Regions from separate parts of the Homo sapiens genome. Here region 1 is linked to region 2. The links are contacts of gene promoters, found by promoter capture Hi-C in human tissues and cell types (Jung and others, 2019). All regions are on one chromosome and are shown on one strand. Each heading gives the region's core, a stretch centred on a gene start or on the middle of the fragment in contact. The rest is flanking DNA. Distances are from core to core; before and after follow the strand shown.

Evidence for each region. The method cuts DNA at HindIII sites, captures the fragments that hold promoters and counts their contacts. A contact is called where the count stands out against the background at its distance.
Region 1: a contact is called between a fragment that was not itself captured here and the fragment with the promoter of ZNF132 in region 2, in 1 of the 25 tissues and cell types used here (lymphoblastoid cells).

What each region holds. Positions count from the first base shown.
Region 1 is chr19:57,420,602-57,425,970 of GRCh38, forward strand. ZNF17 (zinc finger protein 17) reads left to right here. Exons shown (of 4, transcript NM_001330617.2): 4 at 1-1,333. The coding sequence ends at 880. Among named protein-coding and RNA genes, the nearest start is that of ZNF749, 12 kb to the right of the region's middle. The HindIII fragment of the contact is 4,324 bases long and covers 1,849-5,369 here.
Region 2 is chr19:58,437,103-58,442,644 of GRCh38, forward strand. It overlaps ZNF132 (zinc finger protein 132), which reads right to left and starts at 3,051. Exons shown (of 3, transcript NM_003433.4): 1 at 2,657-3,051; 2 at 1-113. The coding sequence starts at 2,719. It overlaps ZNF132-DT (ZNF132 divergent transcript), which reads left to right and starts at 3,346. Exons shown (of 1, transcript NR_186311.1): 1 at 3,346-5,542. It also overlaps a transcript of ZNF324B not described here. RefSeq lists enhancers at 2,717-3,227, 3,460-3,589, 3,739-4,248. The HindIII fragment of the contact is 13,144 bases long and covers 1-5,542 here.

The sequences.
Region 1 (5,369 bases), core at 2,761-5,260, 1.0 Mb before region 2:
CTGCACACTCATTATTCACCAGAGAGTTCATACTGGAGAAAAACCTTATGAATGCAACGAATGTGGGAAATTCTTTAGATACCGTTCCACACTCATTAGACATCAGAAAGTTCACACTGGAGAAAAGCCTTATGAGTGTAGTGAATGTGGGAAGTTCTTTATGGACACTTCCACACTCATTATTCATCAGAGAGTTCATACTGGAGAAAAGCCTTATGAATGCAACAAATGTGGGAAATTCTTTAGGTATTGCTTCACACTGAATAGACATCAGAGAGTTCACTCTGGAGAGAGGCCTTATGAATGCAGTGAATGTGGCAAATTCTTTGTGGACAGCTGTACACTGAAGAGTCATCAGAGAGTTCACACTGGAGAAAGACCTTTTGAATGCAGCATTTGTGGGAAATCCTTTAGATGTCGCTCCACACTTGATACACATCAGAGAATTCACACTGGTGAAAGGCCTTATGAGTGTAGTGAATGTGGGAAATTCTTTAGGCACAACTCAAATCATATTAGACATCGGAGAAATCACTTTGGAGAAAGGTCTTTTGAGTGCACTGAGTGTGGGAGAGTTTTTAGCCAAAATTCCCACCTCATTCGGCACCAAAAAGTTCACACTAGGGAAAGAACTTACAAATGCAGCAAATGTGGGAAATTTTTTATGGACAGCTCCACACTCATTAGTCATGAGAGAGTTCATACTGGAGAAAAGCCTTATGAGTGCAGTGAATGTGGGAAAGTCTTTAGATACAACTCCAGCCTCATTAAACATCGGAGAATTCACACTGGAGAGAGACCTTATCAGTGCAGTGAATGTGGAAGAGTCTTTAACCAAAATTCTCATCTCATTCAGCACCAGAAAGTTCACACCAGATAAAGAATGTATATATAAAGCAGATGGGGAAAGACTTCACACAGAAATCTACTCTGATTTAGCACTGGGACCTACGTTTTAAAAAAAGTATTCTTGTAGAATACAGATAACATAAAATCTAACATCTTAACCATGTTAAAGTGTATAGTTCAGTACTGTTAAGTCATTCACATTGTGCAATGAATATCTAGAAGTCTTTTCAACTTATGAAACTAAGTCTATACCTTTTAAAACCTTATTCCTCACTCCATCCAGCCTCTTGACAAGCACCGCTCTGTATGAATTTTACTAGTCCGGGTACCTCATATAAGAAAACTTAAGTTTTGGTCTTCTTGTGGTTTATTTTGTGGCTTATTTTGCTTAACGTTATATTTTTAAGGTTTCATGTTCTAATCCATTAGAATTTCCATCCTTTTTAAAGGCTGAATAAAATTCTGTTAGTCATGTGTTGCTTAACAGTGGGGAAGTGTCCTGAGAAAAGTGTTATTAGGTGATTTTCTTTCTTTTTTTGGTGGTGGGGGGGTTGCGTGAATGCCTAGGCTGTATGGTATATCCTATAGCACCTTGCTACAAACTTGTATAGCATATTACTGTACTGAATACTGTAGGCTGTTGGAACACATGGTAAGTAATTGTTTTTAAGTATATCTAAACAGAAAAGGTACAGTAAAAATACAGTATAAAAGAAAAAATGATAGACTCACAGAGAACTTACCATGAATGAAGCTTACAGTACTGCAAGTTGCTCTAGGTGAGTCAGTGAGTGGTAAGTGAATGTGAAGGCCTAGGTTGTTACTGTGCTGTAGACTTTATAGACATTGTGTACTTAGACGACAATACATTTTTATTTTTATTATTATTTTTGAGACAGAATCTTGCTCTGTTGCCCAGACTAGAGTGCAGTGGTGCAATCTTGGCTTCCTGCAACCTCCTCCACCTCCTGGTTCAAGCAGTTCTGCCTCAGCTTCCCAAGTGTCTGGGATTACAGGCATGCACCACCATGCCCCGCTAATTTTTGTATTTTTAGTAGAGAACGGGGTCTTACCATGTTGGCCAGGCTGGTCTCAAACTCCCGACCTCAAGTGAGCCACTCGCTTTGGCCTCCCAAAGTGCTGGGATTACAGGCATGAGCCACCGTGCCCGGCTGGACAAAATTAAATTTATAGAAATTTTTCTTTAATATATTAACCTTAGCTGACCATTTTTTACTTTATAAGCTTGTATTTTTAAAAACTTTTTGACTTTTGTAATAATGTTTTGCTTAAAACATTGTACAACTGTACAAAAATATTTTTTATATCCTAACTTCTTAAATTTTTTTTGTTAAAAACTAAGATACACACATTTGTCTAGGCCGGCACAGGATCAGGATAATGTCATTTTATTCCACCTTCACAACCTGTTCCAGAAGATCTTCTGGGACAGTAACACACATGGAGCTGTCATCTAAAATAACAATGCCTTTTTCTGGAATACCTCCTGAAGGACCTGCCCGAGGCTGTGTTACAGTTTGTGTGTATGTACACCTGTATATTTATAGACATACACACAACTCCATATATACTCTACTGTTGGAGAACACCTAATGATAAAAAGTGTAGTATGCTAAGAACATAAGCTAGTAACTCGTAAGTTTTATCTACTGTACATTATTGTATATGTTATACTTCTATATGACTGGCCTCACAGTAGGTTTGTTTATACCAGCATCACCATGAATATGTGATTAATATATTGCCTTACTACTGCTATCATGTCATTAGGCAATAAGCATTTTTCAGCTTCATTGTAATTTTATGGAACCACTGTCATGAATGTGGCCCATTGTTGACTGAAAAGTGAGGTGCATGATTATATATGTATGTGCCACTTTTCCTTTCATTAGTGGACATTTGGGTTGTTTCCACTCAGCTGTTGTTAATAGCAGATGAGCATGAATGTACAAATGTTTCTTTGAGGCTGTGCTTTAAATTCCTTTTGAGGATTTACTCAGAAGTAGAATTGGTGCTTTCTATGTTTTTTTTTTGTTTGTTTGTTTGTTTGTTTGTTTTTTGAGACGGGAGTCTCGCTCTGTCGCCAGGCTGGAGTACAGTGGCCTGATCTCAGCTCACTGCAGCCTCTGCCTCCGGGGTTCAAGCAGTTCTCCTGCCTCAGCCTCCCAAGTAGCTGGGACTACAGGCATGCACCACCATGCCCAGATAATTTTTGTATGTTTAGTTGAGACGGGGTTTCACCGTGTTGGCAAGGATGGTCTCAATCTCGACCTCATGATCCACTCACCTGTCCCCCTATGTTCATTTAAAAAATATTTTTAATTTTTTAAATTTCTGACTCACAATGTTCCCATTCTATGTTAATTCTGTTTTAAAATTTTTGAGGACTCTTCTATAGCAGCTGCATCATTTTTTAATTTAACTTTATTATTAATTTTTTTTTTTAGTAGTTTTACTGGGTTGAGTTTTTTTTTTTTCTTTAGGGTTATTTGGTTTTGAGATGTAGGAGTTTTTTAGTATATGTGGGGACTTCAGAAAGTTTGTGGAAACATGAAAGTAAAGGATACAAAAAGAAAACAAGTTTTATTTCTCAACATAAGCTCCATCAAGTTCAAGACAATTTTATAAGTGATGATACCAGGCATTTAGTCCATCCCTAAAGAAGTGAGGTTCCTGGGAATTTAACCTTGTCTATGCAATCTTTTTTAATATTAACTAAAGAAAAATGGGTGCCCTTTAAAGATTTTTTAAAAGTAGGAAACAAGAAGTCAGAAGGAGCCAAATCCGGACTGTAAGGTGGATGCCTTAGGGTTATCAGAATTCTTGTAAAGTTGCAGTTATTTGATGAGAGGAATGAGCAGGAGCATTGAAGTGAAGGACTCCTGGTGAAGCTTTCCCATGGGTTTTCTGCTAAAGCTTTAGCTAACTTTCTCAAAACACTCTCATTGCGGGCGCCGTGGCTCACGTCTGTAATCCCAGCAATTTGGGAGGCCGAGTTGGGCGGATCATCTGAGCTCAGGAGTTTGAGACCAGCCTGACCAACATGGAGAAACCCCCCTCTCTACTAAAAAATACAAAAATTAGCCTGGCGAGGTGGTGCATGCCTGTAATCCCAGCTACTCAGGAGGCTGAGGCAGGAGAATCGCTTGAACCCGGGAGGCGGAGGTGGCAGTGAGCCGAGATCACACCATTGCACTCCAGCCTGGGCAACAAGAGTGAAACTCCATCTCAAATAGTAATTAATAATAAAGCCATGTTTCATCTGTACAATTCTTCAAAGAAATGCTTCAGCATCTTGATCCTACTTGTTTAACATTTACATTGAAGGTTCTGCTCTTGTCTGCAGCTGATCTGGATTCAGTGGCTTTGGCACCCATTGAGTGGAAAGTTCGCACAACTTTAATTTTTCAGTCAGAATTGTGTAAGCTGAACCAATTCAGATGTCTGTGGTGTCAGTTACTGTTTCTGCTGTTAATCATCAGTCTTCTTCAATAAGGTCATGAGCAAGATGAATTTCTTCCTCGCAAATTGTTATTAATGGTTTGCCATTGTGGGCTGCGTGGTCAACATCATCTCATCTCTTCTTAAAACGTTATCAGGCCGGGCGCGGTGGCTCACGCCTGTAATCCCAGCACTTTGGGAGGCCGAGGCTGGTGGATCATGAGGTCAGGAGATCGAGACTATCCTGGCTAACACAGTGAAACCCCGTCTCTACTAAAAATACAAAAAATTAGCCGGGCGTGGTGGCGGGCGCCTGTACTCCCAGCTACTCCGGAGGCTGAGGCAGGAGAATGGCGTGAACCCGGGAGGCGGAGGTTGCAGTGAGTGGAGATCGTGCCACTGCACTCCAGCATGGGCGACAGAGTGAGACTCCGTCTAAAAAAAAAGAAAACAGGTTATCAGTTTGTAAACTCTGATTTCTCTGGGTCATTGTGCCCATAAACTTTTCTTTTTCTTTTTTTTGAGACGGAGTCTCACTCTGTCGTCTGGGCTGGAGTGCAGTGGCGCGATCTCAGCTCACTGCAACCTCCGTTTCCTGGGTTCAAGCGATTCTTCTGCTTCAGCCTCCTGTGTAGCTGGGATTACAGGCATGCGCCACCACGCCCGGCTAATTTTTGTATTTTTAGTAGTGATGGGGTTTCACCATATTGGTCAGAATGGTCTTGAACTCCTGACCTTGTGATCCGCCCAAACTCGGCCTCCCAAAGTGCTGGGATTACAGGCGCGAGCCACCGCACCCGGCCGGTTTTACCATTTTTAGAGCCAAGCTTTACTATATATTTGATATTTGTTCTTTCTTCAACCTTAGCTGAATTCACATTCCTCTGATAGAAGGTGTTTTCAAACTGATGCCGTTCTTAGTGCCTCAAACTAGATCCTGTTCATACTTGTTAGAACAAGTTATTACAAATTCACTTTGGTGTAAAAAATTGAAATCCATACATAATTTTTTTTTTTTTTTTTGACAGAGTCTCACTAACGCTAGGTTGGAGTGCAGT
Region 2 (5,542 bases), core at 1,801-4,300:
TGGGCTGCATCAAGGAGCTCCCACTCCTCTTGGGAGAAGTATACAGCCACATCTTCAAAGGTTACCATGCTCTTCAATGTGGGGACAGCTGAGCCACAGGGCCAAGAAGTATGCTGACAAAGAAACAAACAATTGGTCAAATGGAAATATGCAGGACCTTGCTGTGTGACTCAGAATCCTGATACATCTACCACTAATATCTCTTTTTCTTATGATCCTCTCAGTCCACCCACTACTCACCCATCCACAGCTTATCTTCTTCCTCAGGGCCCCCACCTAACATGCCCTGGAATTAATGGTGCCCCTCTCTCCTAGTAGTCCCACTGGTCACTGTATCCAGGCCAACCCAACCTAGAGGAACAATAGGCAGGTGGGCAGATGGATGCTTCCTCCTCCCTCCTGCTGGCCAATTTTCCTTGTGTCTTCTGGCTCATACCTCCCAAACATAAGAAAATTTGGGCTTCCCTTTCTTAAGCCTCTTGTACCAGGGCCATGGGCCCAATGGTTCACATTCTCTCACCTTTACATGTCACTCCTCAGACCATACAGTTCTTATATTTCCAACCCCTCCCTGTTCACACTGTAGGCATTCTCCCTAGCATCTCACCATGCACATGGCATACCTGACAGATGCAACCGGGATCCATTCCTGGTCCAAGCCAGCTACAGAGCTCCAAAAACCCCACTGCAAGAGGCAGTCATAGCCCCTCAAGTCAATGCCTCCCCTGCCAGCCCTGTTCCTTCAACCATCAGCTGCCCAGAACCATAAGCAGATCTCAAATATCTCTTCCCTCTGATATCTTTGCCTTTGTATGTGTTGTCTCCTCCCCAGTCATAGCTGTCCTTGCTCTTCCTAACACTCAAATCCAAGATCCACTGGCCCCCACCTTGGCTTGGGGACTCAGCTTAGGCTGACCCTTTCTGATCTTGCCACTCCACCAGCCTGACAAAAACCCCAGGACCCTATTTAAGAAGAGATAACATGCCCTGACCACAAGAAGGATGGCCGCAACAATGTAGTGAGCTGTAGAGAAGCAAATCAACCTAAACCAAAGCCCAACTCTCATCCTACTTTTGCCGCTATGCTTCACTGTTGTCCTAGACCTACTCTCTGCTCAGGAGGCTCAGCCACTATCTTGAACCCAACCCACAACTGCATGCAGTGTCCACACACAAGCATCCATCCCTTGGATGTTTCCAGCCTAAACCCGACATAATTTCATAATCACATGTTTAGTGGTCTACTTGGCACCTCAATTTGGTAGTGTCTGGGACATCTCAAATACAACATGGCCAAAATCCAACTCTTTATCTTCCCCCTGAAATCTACTCCTCACACCAACTTCCACATCTGAAAGATCTAAGGTCAATTTTTTTTTTTTTTTTTTTGAGACAGAGTCTCGCTCTGTCACCCAGGTTGGAGTGCAGTGGCGCGATCTTGGCTCACTGCAAGCTCCGCCTCCCGGGTTCAAGCCATTCTCCTGCCTCAGCCTCCCGAGTAGCTGGGACTACAGGCACCCACCACCACGCCTGACTAATTTTTTGTATTTTTAGTAGAGATGGGGTTTCACCGTGTTAGCCAGGATGGTCTCAATCTCCTGACCTAGTGATCCACCTGCCTCGGCCTCCCAAAGTGCTGGGATTACAGGCGTGAGCCACCACGCCCGGCAATTTTTTTTTTTTTTTAAGACAGAGTCTCGCTCTGTCACTCAGGCTGGAGCGCAGTGGCACGATCTCAGCTCAATGCAACCTCCATCTCCCAGATTCAAACAGTTCTTCTGCCTCAGTTTCCCAAGTTGCTGGGATTACAGGTGCACACTACCATGTCCTGGCTAATTTTTCTGTATTTTTAGTAGAGGTGGGGTTTCGCCACGTTGGCCAGGCTGGTCTTGAACTCCTGACCTCAAGTGATCTGGCCGCCTTGGCCTCCCAAAGTGCTGGGATTACAAGTGTGAGCCACTGCACTCAGCCTTAGGTCAATCTTAACATTTCACTTTCTTTCACTGTCCCACATCAGGTAATCCATGGCCCAGTTTGGGCAGATTCAGAAGCCAACCATCTGTCCTACCTCCACGGGCACCCCTCTGTCCAGCTACCCAAAGCACACATCTGGACCACATCTGTCAGCTCCTCACTGGCCTTCCTGCTCCACCATCACCATCCCTCCAGTCTGCTGCCCACTAGGCATCCATAGGGCGTCTGTTAAGACTGGAGTCAGAGCACCTACTTCCTCTACTCCAAACCTTCCATGGCTCCCACCACCATCAGAATAGAGGTCCAGCTCCTCAGGCTGCCATTCCAGGCCTAACTATTGGTTTCCCTTCCCTGTTTCCACCAGACTAAATGGAGACCGGCAGTCCCCAGAATGCTTCCATTTCATCACCACTAAACAAGGTACACATGCTGGTCACTGTCCCTGGGACAGCCTTCCAGATCTCATTCCACAGGATTCCAGAAATGGGAATCCCTCGATATAACCCCTTGCCTGGATTCAGGATGGTAAGGGTAAGTGACTCCCAGGGCAGGGCCCAGGACCCACGTGTGAGGACAGGACACGATCAAGAGTCCCAGGACACCAACATCCCCTCTATCTGGGCTTCAGGATCCTGAGGGCCGGAATCCCAGCGGGTGAGGGCCTGGGGCACACTCCACTTACCTGCGCCGGGCCCATCAGCAACGCTGGCAACCCCATTAGAACCTGTGGGCTGGGCAGGGCCATAACAGGAGGCCCAGGGCTAGCCCTGCCGCTGGGCCGAACCCTCACACTTCCGCTGGGTGACGGTCGCACTCAGGACCTGTCTTCCCAAATGCAAAATGCGCGCAAGGCCTCTGGGCACCGCAGGGACGAAGGCTGGGTATGGAGACCCTGGAGACGCGTGGCGCTGGCTCCACTTTCGGGAACACCTTGGCTCATAAAAGCAGAGTAATTAGCCGGGCACTATGGTGCGTGTGAAGGCGCGGTGACGGTCCCTGCACCCACTCCCGTGCCCTGGTGTGGCTCCAGAGGCCTGCTGTAGCCCAACCCACCAGCAGCAAAATGAGGACCGCAATGGCGGCGCCGGAAGTCCCGCCTCTCAATGACAGCTCGGACTTGCCACTGGTCCGAGCTTTCATTGGCTCAAGGATCCCCGCCGTCTATGACGCTATTTCCCTATGCCCGTCACGCTACTGCTAGGTCGTTGCCAAGGTGATTGAGGAATGGCGTTTATTGCGTCGCTGCTCAGGCAACGCAAACTACATTATCCAGAAGGACCCTCGCGGTGCCTCAGGGCTGGCCATTGGCAGCCGAGGAGACAGGCACTTCCGGGCGGAGTGTAAGACGCTGGCCAATCACAGCCTGGCAGCGGGACTTCCGTCGTCGTCCTCGGACCATCACTTTGGCATTTCTCGATTTTGTCTGCTTCTGAAGGGACCGCGTTGTCAGGCGAGGGACGGAATCTTGGAGGCTCCCTGGGCCCATGGAAACAGGAGCGAGGAAGGCACGAGAGTCGGGGAAGTTCCGCCTTCTTGACATACAAGCGCCCCCACCGCGGCGAATATCGCCCCTGAGCCCAGTGTTCGCCCCCCACAACACCGCACCCCCCTTCCCCACCCTGTGCCTTAGATAAAGCCGGCCCAGTGGGACCCTCAGGTTGCACCGCGCGGAGGTGTCCGCGGCTCTCGGGAGTCGTCGCCCTTGGCGTTATGTTGGCTTTAGGGAGCGCGAGGCCGAGGCCAAGAAAAGCTACGCATTGGGAGGTCTTGACCCAGTGTGCGCCCGGCTGTAGGCATGGAACGTGCGCCAAAGGTCTCCTGGCACCCACTCCGCTGGACTCAGCACCATTGTCCTAAGTCTCCGATTGAGAAGTATCTGCCCCAGGTCCTCTGCGGGCCCCACTGAACAGTGTGGAGCGTTCACAGGTTGGGGGTCACCATTTCAGAATCCAGTTTGTTGAGACGTGGAGGGTACAGGAGGAGGGATCTGCATATGCGAAGACTTGGACTTGACCCTGACCTGAGCGTTCAGGCAGGCTCTCATGCCCCCTTGGCAGCGAGTGGAGAGCGTAAGAGGAGTCCTGCCTCTCCTGGCACACCGAGGGCGCCTGGGAGCCATGAAAGGTGTTGAACAGAAAAGGGATGGACATGACCTGAGTTAGAATTTGGAAAGTATTTCAGTGGTTGCTGAATGAACACACTACTGGAGAAGGTGGTTGTAGTGGGGCTGGAAGCAGGGAGACTGTGGGGGAGGTTATTGCAGTATTGTTCCAGACAGTTATGATAGTGGCCTGTCCAGAACGGAAGCAAGAAGGATGGGAGAAGTGATCAGATTCCCAGTGGATCTTCAAGATAGAGCTAATGGAATTTTTTGCTACCTTAGATAAGTGGAATAAGCATGAGTAGGGGTGAAGGACCATCCCAAGTAGTTAGGAAGAATTAGGATGCCTCCTGTGGAGAATAGAGGTTGGCAGTTGGCAGGAGGAGGATGTTTCATGGAAGATTAGCGATGGATTTTGTAGGTATAGAGTCTGAATTGTCTGGAGACCTGTGAGTGGAGGTGTCAAATGGGCCTCTGGATATATAGAATTCTGGTGTGGCTTCAGGACGTCCAGACTGCATTATGTTGGTGGCCTGGCCCAGTGAACGGCCTGAGGATAGGATTTGGGAAGGAGGGTTTTAGGTTGGAGGACCAGTGGCTAGGGCTCACGCTCAGTGCTTAGATCACATCTGTCTGCCCATTGGCTTGGTGTTGCAGGGCTTAATGACCTTTGAGGACAGGGTCAGTACATCTTCCAAGAATGTGGGGCTCCTTAGTGAGGTCCAAGGGGGCTTCTACAGTGACATGATACTACAGAGCTTTGTACTCCAGTGCCCACTAGGTAAGGCTACTGTGTCTCCTCTTTCCCCTACACATGAAATCTAGGTTTTCCTCCGCCTTTCCATTGTTCCCTCTGGGAGGTGCTGCTGGCCCTGGCACTGGCCAGTGTCCTGCTGTGTCCGGAATTGTTTCCTTCCTCTGGGTTCTTGGTCTCGCTGACTTCAAGAATAAAGCCGCGGACCCTCGTGTTGAGTGTTACAGTTCTTTTTTTTTTTTTTTTTTGAGACGGAGTCTCGCTCTGTCGCCCAGGCCGGACTGCGGACTGCAGTGGCGCAATCTCGGCTCACTGCAAGCTCCGCTTCCCGGGTTCACGCCATTCTCCTGCCTCAGCCTCCCGAGCAGCTGGGACTACAGGCGCCCGCCACCGCACCCGGCTAATTTTTTTTTTTTGTATTTTTAGTAGAGACGGGGTTTCACCTTGTTAGCCAGGATGGTCTCGATCTCCTGACCTCATGATCCACCCGCCTCGGCCTCCCAAAGTGCTGGGATTACAGGCGTGAGCCACCGCGCCCGGCCCTGTTACAGTTCTTAAAGATGGTGTGTCCGGAGTTTGTTCCTTCAGATGTTCAGATGTGTCTGGAGTTTTTTCCTTCTGGTGGGTTCGTGGTCTTGCTGACTTCAGGAGTGAAGCTGCAGACCTTCGCAGTGAGTGTTACAGCTCTTAAAGGTGGCACATCCAGAGTTGTT